7 separate regions of the Homo sapiens genome follow, and regions 1, 2, 3, 4, 5 and 7 are each linked to region 6. Evidence: promoter capture Hi-C in 16 types of primary human blood cells and fetal thymus (Javierre and others, 2016). All regions are on one chromosome and are shown on one strand. The core of a region is centred on a gene start or on the middle of the fragment in contact, and the rest is flanking DNA. Distances in the headings are between cores, read along the strand shown.

Region 1 (3,092 bases), core at 449-2,948, 650 kb before region 6:
ACAGGAGTTCGAGGCTGCAGTGAGCTATGGTCATACCCACCCCTGCACTCCAGTCTTAAGCAACAGAGTGAGATCCTGTCTCTTAAAAAAAAAAAAAAAAAGAAAGAAAAACAGAAAAATCCCCCTTTAAAAATCTCTAATGTTTGTTCTTAAAAAAAAAAAGTAACATTTTTTTCTTCCCCAAAGCTCGTTTCAAATAATGAAGTCTGTGGTTCTAATTAATTTTTTATACTGTGTGCACGAAAGCTCCTTCACCTAAGTATTTTTTGCAAATCCTTTTGACATTGCAGAATTAAATTTTCTCACTCCTGCCTCCCTTTCCCCTTTGACTCTGCAAATATGCACAACATATGAAAACATGGACGTGCCTGGAAACCAAATGTTCCAACTGGCAAAGCCAGTTCAGTTCCAAGATAAAATTTGCTAAGGAGCTTCCTCTTGAGGGGCCAGTGAGTGAGGCAGGGAGGAGCCGGTGCAGGCAGAGGAGCCCAGTGCTGGGGACCCGACCTGCGCGAAACACCACAAGGATGTTGTCACTTGTACCCTGCTTTCCTTATTTCCGTCCACCTGCTCACCTGGAGTTCTTGCCAGCAGGGAAAGACAGTGCAATCAGAGGAGCCGGGGAGGCTTTTGCTAAGTGCCTGTCATTGCCTCTTTCATTTCCAGCTCCCTCGTTGCTGTCAATCACCCCTCATGCTGTTTTTCCCCATTGTCATGTAAAGTGTGTATGTATTGAGGCTGCCCTGTTACTCTGAGCAGCCAGGAATCTTCTCAACAAAGAATTCGGAATGAACGGAATCTGATTCTGGCCACTGGAGGGACTGCCTGTCATGTGTCAAAGCATCAGCTAAATCAAGAACCTTAGAAAAACAACAACAAAACCCCAGCTCCGTCTCGCACAGGTGGCCTTGTGGGCTCTGATCTGTCTGTCTGATGGGATTGTGGTTGGGGGTGGGGAGCGCAGATTTTCAAGGCAGTCAGACTCTACTGAAACAGCCCCCACATCCTCTCTAATAGCCTGAGTCTTGGGGTTTAAAACCTAACAGATCCCCATTTATACATGCCATACATCCAGAAAAACTTATTATTTATAGGTCTTTTCATGCTTCACAAAGGTCCTAAGCCGTGTCAGTTATGGTTCCCCAAAACTGGGACTGAAGCAGAAACACCTGTCAATTCTTGAAATTAAGCAATATTGAAGTAATATTTGTTTTTTAAAAAGGTGTCAACTAAAGTCATCACTTTATCAATCCATTACATCCAAAGACATCTCTGCTCCGTTACATCCCAGGGGAATGTGTTTGAGACTCACCCAGTACTTGGCTCAGCAGATGCCAGCCTTGCCCTCGAGGAGCTTCCTCTCGAGGGGCCAATGAGTGAGGCAATTTCTAGGTGGTTTGGGTCCAAGCGGTGCTAGCCTTCTCTTGTTTAACAGGCACTCCCTTACACATTTTGGTATCAAGTCATCAACACAGATGGACATTTAGAGATGCGGATTGTGAGCAGAACCCTAGAGAGGGGCTCCCACTGCCAGGACAGGCTGGGACTCTGCAGAGCAGGGAAGGAGGAGCACCCAGAGCTGGCGCAGGGGTTTGGAGACAGACAGGTGAAAGAGGGCCCTCTGCAGGCGTCTCCCTGACAACTGGGGTCAGAACCGGGGACTCGGTCCTGGCCTTGGTCTTCCCAGATGACTCCAGGGTGGAGGCAATGACTTTCTGAGACTTTTCTGTTGTGAAATCAGGGTTAGACTAGAAGCTGGCTTAGGCTCTTGGCTCCAGTAGGTTCTGTGCCTCAGTTTCCCTACATCCCATCTATCTCTAAGGACCGACTGTAAGAACAGGGGCAGGCACTCCAAGTATGGGCATACAGGGAGGACCTTTTGTGCTTGCATTTCTATTCCTGACACTAACTGTTACCCCATGCCTTGAGAAAGGGTGTGTCCACAAGCTGCCACAAGGGAATACGTCAGAGAAAACCGGCTTACAAGGCAGGTAGAAAGTCTATTCTGAAATGTTTAAAGAAACTGTGTGTATATGTGTGTGTGTGTATATATGTATATATATGTGGTGTGTATATATATGTATATATCTGTGGTGTCTATATATGTATATATGTGTTTATATATGTATATATATGTGGCATGTATATATACGTATATATATGTGGCATGTATATACGTATATATATGTGGCATGTATATATACGTATATATATGTGGCATGTATATATACGTATATATATGTGGCATGTATATATACGTATATATATGTGGCATGTATATATGTATGTATCTGTGGTGTCTATGTATATATGTGGTGTTTATATATGTATATATCTGTGGCATTTATATATGTATATCTATGTGGCATGTATATACATGTATATATGTGGCATGTATATTTGTATATATATGTGGCATGTATATATATGTATATATCTGTGGTGTATGTATATATGTATATATATGTGGTGTTTGTATATATATATGTGGTGTGTATATGTGGTGTGTATATATATGTGGTGTTTACATATGTATACATGTGGCATGTATATATGTTGTGCTTGTATATCTATGTGGCGTATATATATGTGGTGTTTATATAAATGTAGCATGTATCTATATGTATATATATGGTGTGTTTATATGTATATATATGTGGCGTTTATATATGTATATCTATGTGGCATGTATATATATGTATGTATCTGTGGTGTGTGTGTGTATATGTATATATATGTGGTGTTTGTATATATGTATATATGTGGCGTGTATATATATGTGGTGTGTATATATGTGGTGTTTACATATGTATATATGTGGCGTGTATACATGTGGTGTTTATAGATGTATATGTGGCATGTATATATATGTATACATATGTGGTGTGTATATATATGTGGCGTTTATATATGTATAAATGTGGCATCTATATATACGTATACATGTGGTGTGTATATATGTATATATGCGGTGTTTACATATGCATATATGTGGCATGCATATGTATATATATGTGGTGTTTATATATGTATATATGTGGCAGGTATATGTATATGTGGTGTGTATATATGTATATGTGGTGTGTATATAT
Region 2 (2,820 bases), core at 193-2,692, 630 kb before region 6:
CACTTTGGGAGGCCGAGGTGGGCAGATCACCTGAGGTCAGGAGTTTGAGACCAGCCTGGCCAACATGGTGAAACCCTGTCTCTACTAAAAATACAAAAATTAGCCGGGCATGGTGGCACATGCCTGTAAGCCCAGGTACTTGGGAGGCTGAGACAGGAGAATCTCTTGAATCTGGGAAGTGGAGGTTGCAGTGAGCCGAGATCGCACCTTTGCACTCCAGCCTGGGCAACAGAGCAAGACTCTGTCTCAAGAAAAAAACTAGACAAAAGATAAGCTAGCAATCCCCACACCCACACCCACCCCAAGGCTTTCCCTATTTCTGTAGGGGCAGCACGCCAGCGCAGTTGTGTAACAAAGCTCCTGGGCATCACCCTAAATTAATTTCCCGCTCTACCTCCCTTCTCTCTGCCGCCCTATTAGCAAACAGCTGCCTGCTTCACCATGGAGCTGGATCTCACCCCATCTCCACTGCTACACACCTGCTCCAGGTACAGCCAGGTGCTGCTTAATGAGAGGGATACAACCTGAAAAATGCATCCTTAGGCGATGTTGTCGTTGTGTGAACATCATAGAGTATATTTACACAAACCTAGATGGTGTATCCTTAATATACACCTAGGCTACATGGTACAGCCTATTGCTTCTAGGCTACAAACGTGTAGAGCACATGACTGTCCTGAACACTGGAGGAAACTGTAACACAATGGTAAGTATTTGTGTATCTAAACAAAGAAAAGGTAGAGTAAACACACGGTATTATAATCTTATGGGACTACTGTCACCGACCGAAACGCTGTTACAGGTGCATGACTGTATCACATCTCTGGCCTGGGCTACTGCAACAGTGCTCACAGGACCCTTGCTTCTGGCTCCAAGAGTGGAGGGGGCACTCGTACCATTGTTTCACCATAGGGTCACCACCTGGCCACCCTCTGCCCAGCAACCATACGGACCTTTCCAAAGCATAAAACAGACATCAGGCACTGCTGAAAAGCCCCAGTGTTTTCCTTCAGAATCAAATAACATCCAACGTTTCCCATGACCTGCAAAGGTGCATGGCCCGGGCCTGTCTAGCTCTTCTGCCCCTGTGCACTGTCCCCTTACTCTCTAGGTTCCAGCTACCCTTGGCTTCCATTTGGCTGATATGCCAAACGCACCTCAGCAGCCTGGATCTGCTCCTCCTGCAGGTAGTCTGATTCCTCGGGGTCCCAGAGGGACCTCCTCCCACCTTTCAAGTCTGAACTCACATAACACCTCCTCAAAGGTTCTCTTGACCATGAAAACCTCTCCTACTGCTTGTCCTAATCATGCCCGACCACATGACTGCATCTTACCTTCTTCACAGCATTGATTACTATTTGAAAATACCTTATTTAGCTGTGTGTTTTGCTGTCTACACTCAAGAGAAGGCAATCTCCCTGAGATCTGGCTTGTACGCTGTTCTATCTTTAGCATGTAAGAGAATTCCCTAGAAGGACACTTGGCTTGATAGAACGGCTATTTGCTATTTTACTTTCGGAAAGCCCTTCCGTTGGCATCTTCATGTTTACTAAAATATATCTACTCTCCATCAAGAATCGTGACTCTGTGTCACGATGTCTTGTGGTATACACAATTAGTACAGCTTGACTTTAATATTTGCTATGGTTTGAATGTTTGTTCCCTCCAAAACTCATGTTAAACTTTAATTGCCATTATAACAGTATTAAGAGGTGAGGCTTTTTTTTTTTTTTTTGAGACAGAGTCTCGCTCTGTTGCCCAGGTTGGAGTGCAGAGGCACGATCTTGGCCCACTGCAAACTCCACCTCCCGAGTTCAAGCGATTTTCCTGCCTCAGCCTCCCGAGTAGCTGGGATTATAGGCGCCTGCCACTATGCCCGGTTAATTTTTGTATTTTTAGTAGAGATGCGGTTTCCATGTTGGCCAGGCTGGTCTCAAACTCCTGATCTGCCCAAACTCAGGTGATCTGCCCATCTCGGCCTCCCGCAACGCTGGGATTACAGACATGAGCCACCATGCCCAGCCGAGGTGAGGCCTTTAAGAGGTGACCTTTAAGAAGTGACTATGCCATGAGGGCTCCACTCTCATGGGGGGGATTGATGCTATTATAAAAGGGAGAATTTGGCCCCCTCTTGCTCTTTCCTGCCCTCTCTTTGCCCTCCCACCATGTGATGACACATCAAGAAGACCCTCGCCAGACACCAGCACCTTGATCTTGGACTTCTCAGCCTCCAGAACTATGAGTAGATAAATTTCTGTTCATTTTAAATTACCCAGTCTGTGGTATTTGGTTAGAGACGCATAAAATGGACTAAGACAATGTTGCTTTTAATTGCACCTTGAATGGTTATAAAATGAACTTTCTTCTTTAAAAAATTTTCCCATAACATTTTGGGGGGTGGTGTACAGTTCTAAGAGCCTTCACACTCATGAAGATTTGTCCAACTACCACCACAACCAGGAGACAGAACAGCTCCGTCCCTCCTCCAAACATCCCTGGTGCTGCCCCTCTGCAGTCACACTCCCCGCTTTCCTGCCATCACAGCTCCTGGCCACCACTGGTCTGGCCCCATCCCTAAAGCTGTGTTTTTATGAGGCTGTGACATGAGTGGAATCATGTATGTAACTGCTTCTCTCACTCAGCATCATGCCCTGGAAAGGCGCCCAGGTTGTATCCTGCATCCGTGGAATGCGCCTTTCAATTGCTAAGTGGTATTCCATTGTATAAATGCACCACACCCACTGAAGGACATCTGTCCTCAAACAGCCCAAGGTCAGGTCCTGCTTTCAGGGTAGTCATCAATGTTTTGGACCCCGCTCA
Region 3 (2,900 bases), core at 273-2,772, 610 kb before region 6:
GGGGTTTAAGATGTATGTAGAAGAAAAGCATGATAACGATAGTACATAGGAAGGGAAATGGAAATGCAATTTAACTATTGTAAAATTCTTAAATTTAAAGTGGTATGATGTTGACTCTTAAGCAGACTGTTGTAAGTTAGAGCTGTATGTTGTAATTCTCAGGGCAACTGTGCATACATGAAAAGTATTGCTGAAAAGCTACAAGAATAATTCAAATGGAATACTAAAAAAATCACTGAATCCAAAAGAAGGCAAGAAAGCAGGAACACAGTTACAAAAAGCAAAATGCACATGGTACAAATAGAGAAGAAACAGCCGAAGAGCAGACCCAAACCTAGTCACACCAATGATTACGCCACATGTAAATGAACTACCCTCAATCTGGGTGGGCACAATCTAATCAGCTGCCAGCACGGCCAGAATAAAAGCAGACAGAAGGATGTAGAGAGACTGGACTGGCTTGGTCTCCCCCGGCCTACATCTTTCTTCCACGCTGGATGCTTCCTGCCCTTGAACATTGGACTCCAAGTTCTTCAGCTTTGGGACTATTGGACATTCAACCACTGACTGAAGGCTGAACTGTCAGCTTCCCCACTTTTGAGGTTTTGGGACTTGGACTGGCTTCCCTGCTCCTCGGCTGCAGATGGCCTATTGTGGGGCTTCACCTTGTGATTGTGTGAGTCAATATTCCTTAATAAACTCCTGTTTATATATACATCTATCCTATTAGTTCTGTCCTTTTGGAGAATCCTAATACAAAAGCCAAATATTGGTTCTTTTAAAAAATGAACAGCGTCGATGAACAGCAGACAGATAAAGAAAATAAGAAGATATAAATTACCAAAATCAATAAAATAGTAATACTAATCCGACAAACAGTAAAAAAAGAGACAATATCATAAGCAACTTTGAGCCAATAAATATAAAAACGTTGATAAAATACAAAATTTCTTGAAACAGACACAAAAAGAAACAGCAGATCTGAATACGCCTATATCCATTAAAGAGATTGAATTAGTTATCAAAAATCTTTCCATAAAGAAAATTCTTGGTCCAGACTGGCTAATTCTATTAAACATTTAAAAAAGAAATAATTAAAATATTATACAAACTCTTTTAGAAAATAAAATAGAAGGGCACACTTTCCATCTTGTTTTATAAGGCTAGTAAACCATAATGCCAAAACTGGAAAAATACATTTTAAGAAAATTACAGACCAATGTTTCCCATGAACACAGGTATAAAAATCCTTAACAAAAATATATTAAAAGGATACTGTATCATGACCAACTGGGGCTTATGCTAGGAATGCAAAGCTGGTTTAACATCTGAAAATCAACCAATGTATTTCACCATATTAACAGATTAAAAAAAGAAATACCACTTGACTATCTCCACAAATGCAGAGAAAAAGATTTATCTCATTATTAACATGGTTTTGGTCCTACTATTGTCATTAAATAGCTGTAAGGGCCTTGAGAAAGCCACCTAGCCTCTTTAGATTTAGTATTTCCATCTGTAAAATGAAAGTACTAGGCTCTCAACTTCCACTGTACATCGGCATCATTTTAGCAGCTTTTAAAAATGCAGCTGCCCACACCCCACCCAGAGAAATCCAGAAATTTCTATTTAATTGTGAATGAGGGCAAGACATGGTCCTAAATTCCCTAGGTGCTTCTAATAAATTGCTAGGTTAAGAATCAATGCACAATAAAATCCACAGAAGAATGATCCTAAGACTGCTTTCACTACCATAATATTTTAGGCAATTAATTTACTTTGTCATCTAGTAGCATCACTACAAGCACTTTGTGTGTATGCTTACATAGATGGGATCTTATACACACACATGGGTACATATATACATGAGTGTGTGTGCAAGTGTGCACATATTTTCTCATTCAATTGTTACAGACTTCAGCTGTTCCATATAGGCTTTCCATAATCTGGCTTCTCCCAACCCACCCTTCTCATGCCTTCCCCGAAACAACGTATCAGCACGGGTTCAACCGAAATGAACATTCTAGCGGAAAGTTAATACTGAGAAGCATTGTTCTGATTTCTAAGCAGTTTAAAGACAAAGACACTGTTAGATAAGGCTCATAAGTGATTTACAGTGCCAACACTATCTCTCTTTCCTCCTTCCCCACTTCTCTTTTTTTTTTTTTTTAAAGCCTGTGCCAGGTGATGGGGTAGGATGGCAGATACTTTGGGTTTAAATTCATAAAGTTATTTTGAAGGTGTTTAGGGGGCAGCAAATTGCCCCCTTTTTGGTTTATTCCAGGCTTGGTGGACTGATGTGAGTCTGGCAAACAGCTTGTTTAGAAGGCAAGGCTTATCCCACTGTTTATGTATCTTGAATGTCTAGGTTGATGACCCTAGTTGGTTAAAATATGATGCTGTTCTAACAGGCTCAATCACTGTGTTGGCCAATAAGATTCCTGGTAAGAAAAACTTCACTCCTTGACTCCAGCTGGAGTGCATATGTAATGAGAAGAAAGAGTTTTACACTGATGAAGGAATACAATCACCACCCCTGGATCAACAGTCAGACTTAAATAGCAAATGTGGCATGGGTTCCAAAGCTCTGTGATTTTCCTATACTGAAAGATTTCTCCCAACCATGGAGGAGCCTAACAATTCAGTCTTCAGGGTCTCTAACAGCACTGACACACTGGATGTTAATTACATTGTGATTGGAGCTTCCTTCCCAGACACTCCAGTGTACTACTTTCCTCCTTTACAGCCTCTCTTCTAACTGCCAATAAAAGAGTCCTCATGAGCTCAGCTCCAGCACAGATAAGACTGACAGAAGGTTCCGAGGTTGGCATTTGCAAAATCGCATGAGCATATAATTGCAGTACTGTCTCCCCATTTTGGATGGTTCACCTTCAGCAGGC
Region 4 (2,963 bases), core at 276-2,775, 540 kb before region 6:
AAAGGTTTAAGAATGAAGACCTGGGTAGAGTACAGAGTGAGGAACAAGACAGAAAGGCCAAGTTTTGGATTTCCCAAGGCCTGTTCCTGCCCTGGCCAATATAATTACAACTTTAGGGAATGGGACCCAGCCTTGGGGGTTTTTCTAGAAGCTCCCAGGCAGTTCTCAGTGTTCAGAACCACTGGCTTCATCCATGCATTTCCAGTTTCACTTTCACTGCTCCAACTTAGTTTATGAAACTCAATGCTGCGAAAATGAGAGGAGGGCAAATTTCTATTTTGGATTCAAAGTCACAAACTGCTTTATACATACTCCACTTGCTCACAAATAAAAAATATGTTATGATAAAGGTCAGCACTTCACTTATTTTACTGTGTAACCTCAGAGAAAAACACACTGGTGGGGAATAACGTGGGGCTGCTCAACATTTGAGAACTGTAACAATGACTTGTGCTGAAGTCGTGAACTACAATCGCATAATTATTAATTCTCAACCATTTAACTTCTCTAACAGGCAGAAAGCCTGGTGAATCATCCTGCACATTGATTCCACGCACAGTCGGTCAATTGTCTTCATTTAACAAAAATCCTCCTATTTAAATCCCTATAGCTACGCACAGATGAAATGGCCATCGGTGACCCAGCCAGTTGAGTCTAGAACCTCTGGGCATAGAAAATGCAACTAGGAATAGTTTGCAAATGCACTGGCATATCCAGTAAATCCTGGTCTATCTCTATGACCTTAGGCAACTCAGGCTGCTTCTCTGAGCCTCAGTTTCCCAAGATATAACATGAAAATGTAAGAACCACTCTATCCCATCCCCTTTGAACTATAAGGCATGACACAAGTTAGACATTAAGTCCCATCATTAAGAACATTAAACTTGCCTTCTTCCAATCTGGGGGTCCAGCCTTTACTCCTCTTCCAGTTACTATTCAGGGGTACTAAACTTCCCTTTCTCTCCATAATTAACTCATTCAACAACTTGTTTACAAATTTATGCATATTTTACTTCTGTGGTCTTCCTCTCCCAAACCCATAACTCTCATCTAATCATGAGAAAAAACATCAAACAAACCCCAGACGAGGAATATTCTAAAAAATCCCTGACCAAGCCTCCTCAAAACCGTCAAGGTCATAACAAAAAAGGAAAGTCTAAAAAAATGTCACAGTAAGAAGACATAATCACTAACTGGAATGTGGTATTCTGGATAACATATTAAAACAGAAAAAGAACACAAGGGGATGTTGTAAAAAATCTGAATAAAGAGAGAACTTTAGTTAATAACATATCAATACTGGTTCTTTACAATAAATGAATCATACTGATGTAAGATTTTAATAACAGGGAAACTTGGTATGATATATATAGGAACTTTCTGCACAATGTTCCCCATGTTTCTGTAAGTCTAAAACTGTTCTAGAAAAAAATAAAATTGTAAAAAATTACAAAAATGTGCGCATAATCCTATTTACCTAAAGGGAAAGCAACTACACTGAAAACTCCTGGGCCAACATCCGTCAATCATGTATTTCCTGGGTGCCTGTTCATTTTTAATGGAAATTTTAAGCCCTCTTGCCTCCCTCTTCGTTCAAGAAAACTCAGGTACAAATCTCTTGATAAATGCTCGAAAGCCAATCTTCCAATGAGAATAATCAGCTCAGCTCCGGGGACAGGAGGGGCAAGGCCTCAGAGGAATCTATTCCACGCCACCATCCTCTCTTCAAGAGCTGCCAGACCATCCTAAACGTTTTAGCCCAGAGAAAGCGAGCACAAGGGATGCCACTCGCATGCAGCTTTTCCTCATTCCTAGGTCTAAGTAAGAGTTTATGAAGCAGGTCAGCTCTTAGCTCCTGGTGATAACTTCCCATTCCTGAAGGCAAGAACAGCAGGTCCTTTAAGAGATGATATATAATTCTAGCCCTAAGTTAGCTGAGCGCCCGACACTTTAAGGAGTCTTTTATGGCTCCATTTTCTAACACTTGCTCCGAGTCCACCGCCTCCCCAGTCAGGGGGTGGCACACAAAGCCCTCTCTCAACTGCAGCTCACTTCTTGTTCTGGGTTTCCCAACCACAGCTGAAGCAGGTTCTTTTACTTTAGAAAAATGAAGAATTTCTGCACACTGGACTAGAAAATGTCTCTTTACAAAAAAAAGGGGGGGGTATTTTAGAAAATTATTTCCCATGTGATTTATGTAAAAATCAATTGCATTTTAAAAATTTAAAAATAATCATTGCCAATAGGTAAGAAAAAAAGGTGGGAGGAGAGAGGTGAAGCCCTCAGGCAGCACTTGGTGATGAGCGGGGCCCAAGGGCCACAGTGGAGCAGCCGCAGGGAGGCCAGCAGGAGGCAGCCTCGTCAGCCGGCCAGGCTGCAGCCCTGCACATTTCACACCCGTGCTGCTCCACCGCCCCTTCCTCCCATCACCACGGCGCTCCTCCACGCTCGGCAGTTCCCTGACCTCCATGTCAATATCCCCGCAAGGCTGCTTTCCTCCCCACTTCACCTCAGCCCACAAGCAGGTCTCACAGAACTAAAGTGCAATGCTCCTTGTCACCAGTAGGTGCCACCATCTCCCATGACCACCTGGTTAAATCCTTCCCATGAGGGCCTAACTTCCATACAACTGGTTCCTTCCTAGGCCTGCTCTGTAACCACTGAGTCAGAACTGGCTCCATGCTGGGAGTGGTGGCTCACGACTGTAATCCTAGCACTTTGGGAGGCCAAGGTGGGAGGACAACTTGAGCCCAGGAGCTCAAGACCAGCCTGGGCAACGTGGTGAGACCCTGCTTCTACAAAAAATTTTAAAAATTAGCCAGGTGTGGGGATGCACAGCTGTAGTCCCAGCTACTTGGGAGGCTGAGGCAGGAGAATCACCTGAGCCCAGGAGTTTGAGGCTGCAGTGAGCCAGGATCGCATCATCGCACTCCAGCCTGGGCAACAGAGTAAGAGACCCTCTG
Region 5 (2,751 bases), core at 52-2,551, 690 kb before region 6:
GCAAACCCGGGAGGGCCATGGGGCCTTGCAACTACGCAAGCCTCACACATTCTCCTCCAGTCTGCATTCATGGCAAAAAAAAAACATTTCCCCACTTGCCTGGGATTGGGGCGAGAACAAGTCAACGACACTGATGGGGGAGAAAGGTGACCTTGGGTGTGGTACCTCCCAGATCTGTCTCCTGCATCCTCGCAGGTGCTGTGTTTGAAAGGTATGACAGCGGTGGCTAACAGGCAGGCACACTTCCAGGCGGCTTGGGGTGGCCCTTCTGCCCCAGAGCCTTACTCCTCACAGGGATCCCTGTGGGTTAGGCATGGACTGTCACCACGCCCAGATGGAGTGGTGCAATGGTTCGCCCAGGTAAGCAGACCCGGGTTTGCCTGACGCAGGAGGCCGCGTCCTAACTGCTGTGGGCACTGGCTGTCCTGATTCATCACGAGGACGGGGGATTTTATCCCTGACTTACCTGACAACTTTGTGGGGGATTTTCTCCTTTCCATATCCAATCCTCTCTGCTGATCCGAATACTGAAAACAATCATTATGAGATCCGGGACATCACCCTCCCCCTGGGTCCTTTTCTTGTCCTAGATGGAGATGGGTGTTTTGGAGCTTAACAACTACTGAAGCTGAAGTTAGCCTGGTAGGGAGCCACTATTCTGGGGGGCATTTGGACAGGGCAAGCCCTTGGCCACACCAGACCCTGAGCCAGAAAGAACCATAGCGATTTCCTCACCCAGATGGCCCCAGCTCACAGTATGGGGAGAGTGGGATGGGGTGGGGGAGTGGAGCCAGCTGTGGGGTCTCATCAGAGTGCCCTGGGATCTAGGCCAGAGGCGCCGTCTTCACCCACATGCCAGCTTTGTGGTTCTGGTCCCTCTTCCTTAAGCGAGGGCTTGCCAAGCTTTGGCTGTGGAAAGCCTTAGCCTTGTGTAGTGGGAGTTCCAAACGAAAGAAGTCCCCAGAAGTTCACAAGGTAGTGGCCAGGGAAAGTGTCCCCAGTGCCCCCTCCCCACCGGTGGCCTCTGCAGCTTGCTTTGGAAAACAGTTCTGTCTGTGAAGAAATCTCTCCTGTTACGGCCCTGTGTCAGTCAATGCGGGCTTGGCTGTCTGCCCAAATACCTTCCGTTCTTATCAGGAACATGACTGAGGCTTCTCACTTTTGACTCCATCACTTAATCCCTTTTTCTCCGTGGCTTCTGTGTGTCTCATCTTCGAGAATATTTCTCAGCCTTCTTTGCAGGTATGTTATTCTCTCCCAATAAGAAATAAAGAGTATCAGGTACCAAAGTGGCACTTAGAGCTGTTGCCATAAAATAGCACCAGAGAGTAAGCATGCCCTCTGGCCACGCAGCTCGCTGCCATTTAGCCATCTCTGTGTCCCTCCCTCCCTGGGGTGCCCAGTGCGCACCCCAGTTCTCCAGCAGCCCAGGCACATTCTCCTAGCTCTGACCCCTGTCTGGTGGGGGCCGGGCAGCCTCTCTTGAGTGTAGGGCGGTGGTGCTGGCGCTGGTGGCAGCTCTGTGTGAACTGTGTTCCGGGGAGGGTGGGGCACCTTCACCCTTCCGTGTATACCCATGTATACACGGTCGTAATGAGGAGACTCCTGCGGGAGACTTGATTGTGCGCTCCATGTCACTAGCTACTCTACAAGCAGATACTATTCTTCAGGTTTTTTCCTTAGTTGCCTGGAAGCTTGACCTTGTGTGCATGTATTTGGAGATGAAAACAGAAAGGGCGGGGAGGACATCGGCTTGTGTGAAAGACCTAGGAAGACGATGGAGGAGTGTGTGCGGCTTCCCTCACGTGTCAAGCCTCCTGGCTCCCTCAGGTGGAAGGGGCACTTTATGGCCAAGGAAATTCAGTGAGGAGTGAAGGGTGAGGCTGAGCCCGCCAGATAAATCAGCCTCGGCCCTCCCCTCCCCAAGGGTCAGCCCCCGGCAGCGCACCTCTGTTCTTGGTGCGTCTCGCTAGTCTTTGATTCATTCTTCTGCCGTCTTCACCCAAGCCTCGCTGGACTAAAGAGTGACAGTTAATGCACATGGAGCATTTCTGTTCCAGCAGGTCACGTCTCCCTGTATGGTTCCTTTGCTGAGTCCTCAGCATTGCCCTGGGAGCTGACAACCATCGGTCCCCCTTTTGTGATGGGAAAGTGACACTCTGAGAGCCGTGGTGACTCTACAGGGTGTGGAGCCAGGTTGACCCTCACTCTGTCTGCTCCAGGGCTTCCTGGTTCTCAGCCACTGCTGCTTCTGAACTGCTACAGGCCAGGCATTGTGCTAAGAACTGGGCACGTGTTACCCCAACGTGGTCTGTGCCCTTGAGGGTGCCATGACTGAAACACGTTGGGGGCACAGAGCAGGCTGATTCTCCGCCGAAAGAAGGCTCCAGCCAGAGGCCGAGACCCCGTGTGGGGGAGGTGGCAGTCACCATTGCTGCTGGACTCAGCAACCCCCAGACCCTCCACCTTGCTTGGCAGGCATCACATGCACCTGGCTTAGCACATCCCTGCAAACACAAGAGTCTGAGCCTCCTCAAGAGGCTGCAGTCACACTGCATTTGACCAGGACTTGCCAACCTGCAACTTGCCCTGAGAGCCAGGTATGCGTGTGTGTATCTGGGGAGCACGCCCCAAACATGAGCAGGGACGGTGTTCCCAGCTATCCGAGAGGTCATGCCCAAGCCAAAAGGAAGGCTCTAGCTCTTAAACATGAATAAGTTTATTCCTTTCATTTCCACAGTGTCTTATGCT
Region 6 (3,075 bases), core at 457-2,956:
TATCCAAATTATAAAAGTGATAATTATCTTGACAGACTGTAAAAATATGAGTTTCACATTAAACTTACTTGTTCTTTATTTGGAAGAAAGCACTGGTGAGAAATCCAAGCAAAGTGAGCTAGTTTTAGTTTATCTTCCCAGGAAGTTGTCTTGCTTTTAAGCTTAAGGGAAATGCCAGAATAAACAGCAGCCATGGCTAGGCTTTATCTAAAATTTAAAAACAATGGGAAAAAAAATACTATAACAATGTCAGACTGAGCAGGCACCAGAAAACCAACAGTATTGCAGTACTGTATCTTGTTTACCTAATATGTATTCTTTTAAAAGTTTTTAATGAATCAACAGATTTGTCGGGGTAAATCTACATACAAGATGCTTGACTCCAGAATTTTCTGGGGGAAATTCAGACAAAAGCAAGCAAAAGATGGACTGCACACACAGAAGATGGACTATATGTATTCCAGCTATGATCAAACATCACTTCCACAAAGGTGAGTGTTCAGGAATTCAACAAGGCCAAAATCAGTGATTACATTACTTGTGGAAAGAGTCATTCATACATGGTTTCAAATTGAAAGAGGAAAAGATACATAAGCAATATCCGGAGAAAGTAATATGTCTCCAAGTGAAAAAGAAAACCCCAAAGGAATACAGTTATTTCAGCTGCAACAGTAACCTTCCACTAACACTTTTATTCAGTCGTGTATAAATTTACAACGCACATACACTTCAAAAAAGACTCTACAAGAGATACTTGCACAAGGAAAAGACTAAAAATAGAAAACAAAAAACCATGAAATCTCGGGGGTAGCAAACATACCAAACACCTACAGTTACTATTAAACTGGGTAAACTTGGCTTTGAGTTTCCTAAAAGTTATAGTAAAAAGGAACGTTAAGACGTTTTCATTTTAGAAATTAAGTTATCCTTCACTCTACTGCAGAGAACAAGAACGTCAAGTGCTGTCAGTTTTCCTATTTTGTCAAAATGTCCAAAACGAATTCAACGATGCCTGACTTTCTAAGTTCAATACCATAGAACCGCCATCGCGACAGCTACAAAGTGCATAACAGGTGTTTGCTGAACTGGCTACAAAGACAACCGAGATGCTCTCCCCGGCTCCGCCAGAGTTCGGCTCTCCGGGCCTCCAACCGCCCTTACCGGGCAATGCGAAGTCCAGGGCGGACAGCACAGCCCTGCCAGCACTCCCTGCCCAGCAGAAAGAGACCAAGCAACAAGAACCAGGGGAGAGCAGCTAGGAGCCAGGAGGGAGTTCGCCTTCGCGAATGGAGCGTGCCGAAGCCGCTCCAGCCCAGAGTCTGCTGGCGGCACCGGAACTGGGCAGGGTTGGGGGGCCCCCCATCTGGGCCCGGCCTTAGGTAGGGGGATCTCCTCTGGACCAGCCCCGGGTGGGGGGACTCACCTCGGGACCTGGCTGCCCGCAGGGGCTGACCGCAGGTGGGGGACTCACCTCGGGATCCGGCCCGGTAGGGGGCTCAGCTCGAGACAGCTCCGGGTAGACAGGGGAGGACGGCGGCAGCGGCGGCGGCTGCTGTCCCGGTGCGGCGGAGGCCGCTGTACGGGTCCCGCGTCCCCACCACGTGGGACCGGTACCCGCGCTCCTTCCGCCGGACGCCGGCGGCGCAGCGGGGAGGGGCTGCACGCACGCCAGGCGTCGCCAGCCGAGCGCCGAGGCGCCTCGCCCATTGGCGGAGACGGTTGCGCGTTGGAGGCCCGAGCGGCCCAGCCCGCGGCCCGCTCCGTGTCAGTCAGTCATGGAGCGGCCGCCCAGAGCGGCGGCGGGGGCGGCGGGGCGCGGGGCGCGGGGGCCCAGCTGAGCCGGCCGTCGGAGTGAGACCCTGCGGCAGAGACGACGGAGGCGGAAGCAACCCGATCCCGGAGGCGGCGGCGGCGGGGGGAGCCGGAGCCGCCTGGGATGTTCAGTGAGTGCCGGGAGCACGGGCGGGGAGGGCCGGGAGGGTCGCGAGGCGCGCGCGCGCGCGGGCGGGCGGGGGCCGGGGCGGTGGGGCCTCGGCGGGGCGCGCCTTGGCTCCCGCCGGCGGGCGGTGGGGGTGGGGCGCGGGAGGCGGGGCTGGGGGGCGGCGGGCGGCTCTGCGCGGGCGCGACGGCCGCGCCTCCGCCCTCGGCCTCCCGAGTCCCGGGCTGCGGCCGGCGGCGTGGCCTGCAGTCGGCGGCTACACCTGGACTGGCGTCGCGTTCCTGCGCAGGGGTGGGTCCTGCGGGTTGGATGCCGGGCTCGGGGAGGAGGTGGCGGGCGCCCGCGGGGAAGGTATCCCAGTGCCCGACAGCCAAGCAGGGAGCACGGCTCCACAGCTCCTTTGCATGTAGGGGAAAAGGAAATGTCTTTGCGGCGAAGTCGGGATTCAACTTTGCACATGGTGATCGTGCGTGGGTGGGTGTGGAGTCGATCTCCGCGTGTGACACGGGGGAGCCAGAGTTAGACTAGCTGCTGCAGGAGAGTGCTTACCTGCAAGGGTGTCTCTCGGGGCTCGTTGCCTCATGACAGCAAGGTAAGGTTGGTGCGCCCATGGTGTGGGACGGGTTCACCACCTCCAGCTCGCGAAGCTGCCAGGCTTTTGAAAATGTATTCGATAAGGCGTTGGTCCGAAGTGAGTGGATGGTTAGAAACAGTGGTGTCATTTTAGACTTAGCGGAAGTGGAGTGCAGGAACGCTACATGCAGTTCTCCCATCAGTTGTGAAAGTCGTTGTAATGCGGATCTCGCAGTCTTTGTGGTTCTGGGATCAGAAGGTAAGTGCCAGTCCCATGCAGTGTCTGTCTTAAATTACTGTACCTAAACTGACCTTGCAGATTGGAATCTCGGAATGGTGACTCCTGCTAACAAGCAGTTGGGAGCTGTGCTGAGAGGAACATTAAGTGCGGAGCGTGTCTTATATCAGGCGATTCAAGTGTGCCAACACCTGAGTTGGGGATGTAGGGGAGGACACGGAGGCTGTGCCCCAGTTCCTGGTCACAGCTCTACTTGGAAGGGGGAGTAGGAAAGGGAGTTTTGTGCTTAATAGGTTAAATGCATCTGGCCACATCTTTAAACTTT
Region 7 (3,159 bases), core at 82-2,581, 680 kb before region 6:
CTGGACCCGTTAATGATTACTGATTGGGAGACAGTGGGTCCTCAACACAGTTCTGGGTACTCTGGGGTTGCAGAGAAGCTTAAGGATAACAACAGCTGACATCGTTTTAATGCCACTTTTTAAGAACCACACATTCTACTAAAGGCTTTAACACACATTAATTTAGGATTAAAAATATTTAATCCTAACAACAACGCTTTGAGGTAGGCACTCTTATTATCACTAATTGGCAGATGGAAAACTGAAGCACAGAGAGGTTAAGTAACTTGCTCAAAAACACATAGCTCGTAAGTGATCAAGCCAGGATGTGAATTCAAGCAGCCTGATTCCATGGCCCATACTTTTAGTTATTATACCACATGGCTAAGATGTGGCTGCAGGTAGATTTTAGCCAACCTGGAAAAACCTGCTTTCATTCTATGGAACCACTTAGAAAATACACAAGGCAACGTGAAATTCAGAGGTCATTGTTGTCACTTCTTAAAAGTGCAATTTGAATTGAGAGAGCACAGAGCTCAAAGTATGGCCCCCCCTGAGTTGATTTGTAGGAGGAGTGAGTAAAGAAGGCCGGATCTAGAGGAGGGGCTGTCTCAGGTGCATCCCAACTGGGAAGAAGCTTCCATAAAGAAGTGGGGAAACTGGAAGGGCCTTGCTGAGGTCTCCAATCAGCTTTAAAGATTTGAACCTGCCATGAGAAGAAGACTGAACTAATTCAATATAGCTCAGGGGTCAGAATTAGAGGCAAATTTGGGCTCCATACAAGAGAATTTTTTCTAATCGTCTGAACAATCTGCAATGGGTTTTACCACTCTAGCAGCTGTGAATCCATTCTGTGAATCGCAGAGCTCTAGAGAAGGTTCTAAAAGGAAACTCGAGAGACAGCCGGCAATTCCAGCATGCTGCGGTGCTGGAGGTGGACACTTCAGGCACTTTTTACTCAGAGACCTTGTAGAGAGAGAGGGCTCTGTGACCTTCCCGCCACTCTACTGTACAGAGCTCCTGTCTAACAAGGAGCCAGAGATCCATGTGCTGACATCGCGGATGGGCTGCCCTGCCCACTGGAGCCCAGCCCTCAGTGCTCTCAAAGACACAGGGACACCTGGCTCATTTAGAGGCTTCCAGGCTGGGCGTGGTGACTCATGCCTGTAATCCCAGCACTTTGGGAGGCTGAGGCAGGCAGATCACTTGAGGTCAGGAGTTCAAGACCAGCCTGCCAACATGGTGAAACCCTGGCCTCTACCAAAAATACAAAAGGGTGTGGTGGCGGGTGCCTGTAATCTCAGCTACTCAGGAGACAGAGGCAGGAGAATCGCTTGAACCCAGGAGGCAGAGGTTGCATTGAGCAGAGATCGCACCATTGCACTCCAGCCTGGGTGACAGAGCGAGACTCTATCTCAAAAAAAAAAAAAAAAAAAGGCTTTGAGTTAGACTCCAGAGGGAAAGCAGCCCCAAAGCCCACAGGGTGGCATGCCTGGCTGAGGACCAACTGACCTGTGGAGACGCCAAGGCCAGCCTTGCCGACCCTGTCTCACCTTGCTTGAACTGTGGTTCTCAAGCCCTGCAGGTGGTCAGGCCCTTGGAGTCCACAGCACTTGTTAGAGAACACCAGGCACTGTTGACAGGCCACTGGAAATACCATAAATGTCTATGCGACTGCAGACACAGCCACACCGAGTCCAGCATGGCCAGGTGGCTGCCGATGCTAAACACGGACATGCTCGTGGGAGCGGAAACTCCATGCAGAGGAAGGCCCAGCTGTTATTTCTTCTATATTATTTTTTTCAGACTGGGAAAATAAAGCCATTATTCTATCACCCCCCTCACCCGTGGAAGTTCAGAGTTCAAGGGAGGGGACTAGAGAGCAAAGGCCTCCAGAGAGCAGGCGAGGGGCTGCCAGGGCCACTGAGCCTCTGCAGGGTGCTCAGCCACCACGTCCGGACAGAGCTTGGCCCCTCTCGTCAGGCTTCCTGGGTGTGCCTCAGTGATTCCTCCCTGCCCTGCCCCACTCACACCTGTCAGCAGCCTGGTGGTGAAGGGGAAGCTTTCTCTGCTTAGCGGGCCGGGCTGTCTTTATGCCCAGCCGGACGCATCCTTGCTAGGCATTGAGTTGACAGTGCAGCCGCCCCGGAAAAGCTGGGGTCTCGTGCGCTGCGGTACGGGCATCTTCCAGCAAGAAGGGTGAGGAGGTCCCCAAGGTCTTTCCAGCACCCCTGGGAGAGACGGGAGTCTGTGAATAAAGCCTTGGGCGCAGCTGAACGAAGGACTTTTTCTCTCAGCACAACTAATGTGAGAACACTGTCACCTGCTTCCATCTCTGGGGAATGCATTTTCTGAACAGGTGCTGGCCCCGGCCCTCCCCTCCACACCACCTCTGCTTCAAATGGGAAATCTAAACCTCTCAAGGCCCAGAGGCTGTTTGTTTCTCTCTTATTTCTAAGGCATCCACCCATGAGTGCTAGAGAAACCTACCTTTCCTGCTGTTGGAGCCTTCTAGGACCTCCCTGTCTCAAAAACTATGACCAGCACCGTGCTCATGATCAGCGGGCTGGTGCGCAGTGGTGGGGATGGCCTTAAACCCCGACTGCCCAGGTAACACCCTCATTTCAGTAATGGCCCATCATGATGGCAAGCCTTAATGGGAGGTGTGGTGGGCAGAACGAGGAGCCCCGACCCCGAAACAAAGAGGCTCACCTCCTAATCCCCAGGACCTAAGCCTATGTTACTTTTCACAGCAAACAGGAATTCAGGTAGCAGAGGAGTTCAGGTTGCAATCAGCTGTCTGTGAGGCAGGGAGAGGACCCTGGAATATCCTGTGGGTGCAGTGTCATCACAAGGGTCCTTGTGAGTGAGAACCTTTCCCAGCTGTGTTTACAGCGGAGACACGGCTGTGAAGAACGCAGGAGGTGCAACGTTGCTGGCTTTGATGATGGATGGGGGGATGTAAGCCAAGGGGCATGGACACCTCTAAAAGCTGGGCACAGTGTGAAGTGGAATCCTCCCTCAGAGCCTCCAGAAAGGACTGCAGCCCTACAGACACCTTTACTTTCGCCCAGGGAGGCCGTGTCAGACTTCTGACCTCCAGAGCTGTAAGGTACTACATTTGTGTTGTTGCAGCCACCAAGTTGGAGGTCATTTGTTACAGCAGCAACAAGAAATCAA

Evidence for each region. The method cuts DNA at HindIII sites, captures the fragments that hold promoters and counts their contacts. A CHiCAGO score of 5 or more calls a contact.
Region 1: a fragment that was not itself captured here is called in contact with the fragment with the promoter of TAF5L in region 6 in 5 of 17 cell types (fetal thymus, megakaryocytes, endothelial precursors and 2 more); the score reaches 11.0 in fetal thymus.
Region 2: a contact is called between a fragment that was not itself captured here and the fragment with the promoter of TAF5L in region 6, in 7 of 17 cell types (megakaryocytes, endothelial precursors, M2 macrophages and 4 more). The highest score is 10.4, in megakaryocytes.
Region 3: a contact is called between a fragment that was not itself captured here and the fragment with the promoter of TAF5L in region 6, in 8 of 17 cell types (megakaryocytes, M1 macrophages, endothelial precursors and 5 more). The highest score is 9.2, in megakaryocytes.
Region 4: a contact is called between a fragment that was not itself captured here and the fragment with the promoter of TAF5L in region 6, in 7 of 17 cell types (fetal thymus, total B cells, total CD4 T cells and 4 more). The highest score is 7.7, in fetal thymus.
Region 5: a fragment that was not itself captured here is called in contact with the fragment with the promoter of TAF5L in region 6 in 1 of 17 cell types (naive B cells); the score reaches 6.3 in naive B cells.
Region 7: a fragment that was not itself captured here is called in contact with the fragment with the promoter of TAF5L in region 6 in 12 of 17 cell types (erythroblasts, naive B cells, endothelial precursors and 9 more); the score reaches 13.1 in erythroblasts.

The regions. Positions count from the first base shown.
Region 1 is chr1:230,275,122-230,278,213 of GRCh38, reverse strand. All of the region lies in intron 15 of GALNT2 (polypeptide N-acetylgalactosaminyltransferase 2), which reads right to left. Among named protein-coding and RNA genes, the nearest start is that of PGBD5, 150 kb to the left of the region's middle. The HindIII fragment of the contact is 4,857 bases long and covers 1-3,092 here.
Region 2 is chr1:230,255,361-230,258,180 of GRCh38, reverse strand. All of the region lies in intron 11 of GALNT2 (polypeptide N-acetylgalactosaminyltransferase 2), which reads right to left. Among named protein-coding and RNA genes, the nearest start is that of PGBD5, 170 kb to the left of the region's middle. RefSeq lists an enhancer at 2,406-2,820. The HindIII fragment of the contact is 4,016 bases long and covers 1-2,820 here.
Region 3 is chr1:230,237,113-230,240,012 of GRCh38, reverse strand. All of the region lies in intron 6 of GALNT2 (polypeptide N-acetylgalactosaminyltransferase 2), which reads right to left. Among named protein-coding and RNA genes, the nearest start is that of GALNT2, 170 kb to the right of the region's middle. The HindIII fragment of the contact is 3,191 bases long and covers 1-2,900 here.
Region 4 is chr1:230,167,164-230,170,126 of GRCh38, reverse strand. The region is part of intron 1 of GALNT2 (polypeptide N-acetylgalactosaminyltransferase 2); the gene reads right to left. Among named protein-coding and RNA genes, the nearest start is that of GALNT2, 100 kb to the right of the region's middle. The HindIII fragment of the contact is 3,170 bases long and covers 1-2,963 here.
Region 5 is chr1:230,316,761-230,319,511 of GRCh38, reverse strand. It overlaps PGBD5 (piggyBac transposable element derived 5), which reads left to right. Exons shown (of 7, transcript NM_001258311.2): 7 at 1-2,751. Among named protein-coding and RNA genes, the nearest start is that of PGBD5, 110 kb to the left of the region's middle. RefSeq lists enhancers at 1,830-2,329, 2,330-2,751. The HindIII fragment of the contact is 791 bases long and covers 906-1,696 here.
Region 6 is chr1:229,624,753-229,627,827 of GRCh38, reverse strand. It overlaps TAF5L (TATA-box binding protein associated factor 5 like), which reads left to right and starts at 1,706. Exons shown (of 5, transcript NM_014409.4): 1 at 1,706-1,943. It overlaps URB2 (URB2 ribosome biogenesis homolog), which reads right to left and starts at 1,581. Exons shown (of 10, transcript NM_014777.4): 1 at 1,472-1,581; 2 at 69-207. The coding sequence starts at 194. RefSeq lists enhancers at 1,008-1,087, 2,748-2,797 and silencers at 1,278-1,977, 2,068-2,257. The HindIII fragment of the contact is 3,723 bases long and covers 164-3,075 here.
Region 7 is chr1:230,299,958-230,303,116 of GRCh38, reverse strand. No RefSeq gene overlaps it. Among named protein-coding and RNA genes, the nearest start is that of PGBD5, 120 kb to the left of the region's middle. The HindIII fragment of the contact is 1,425 bases long and covers 619-2,043 here.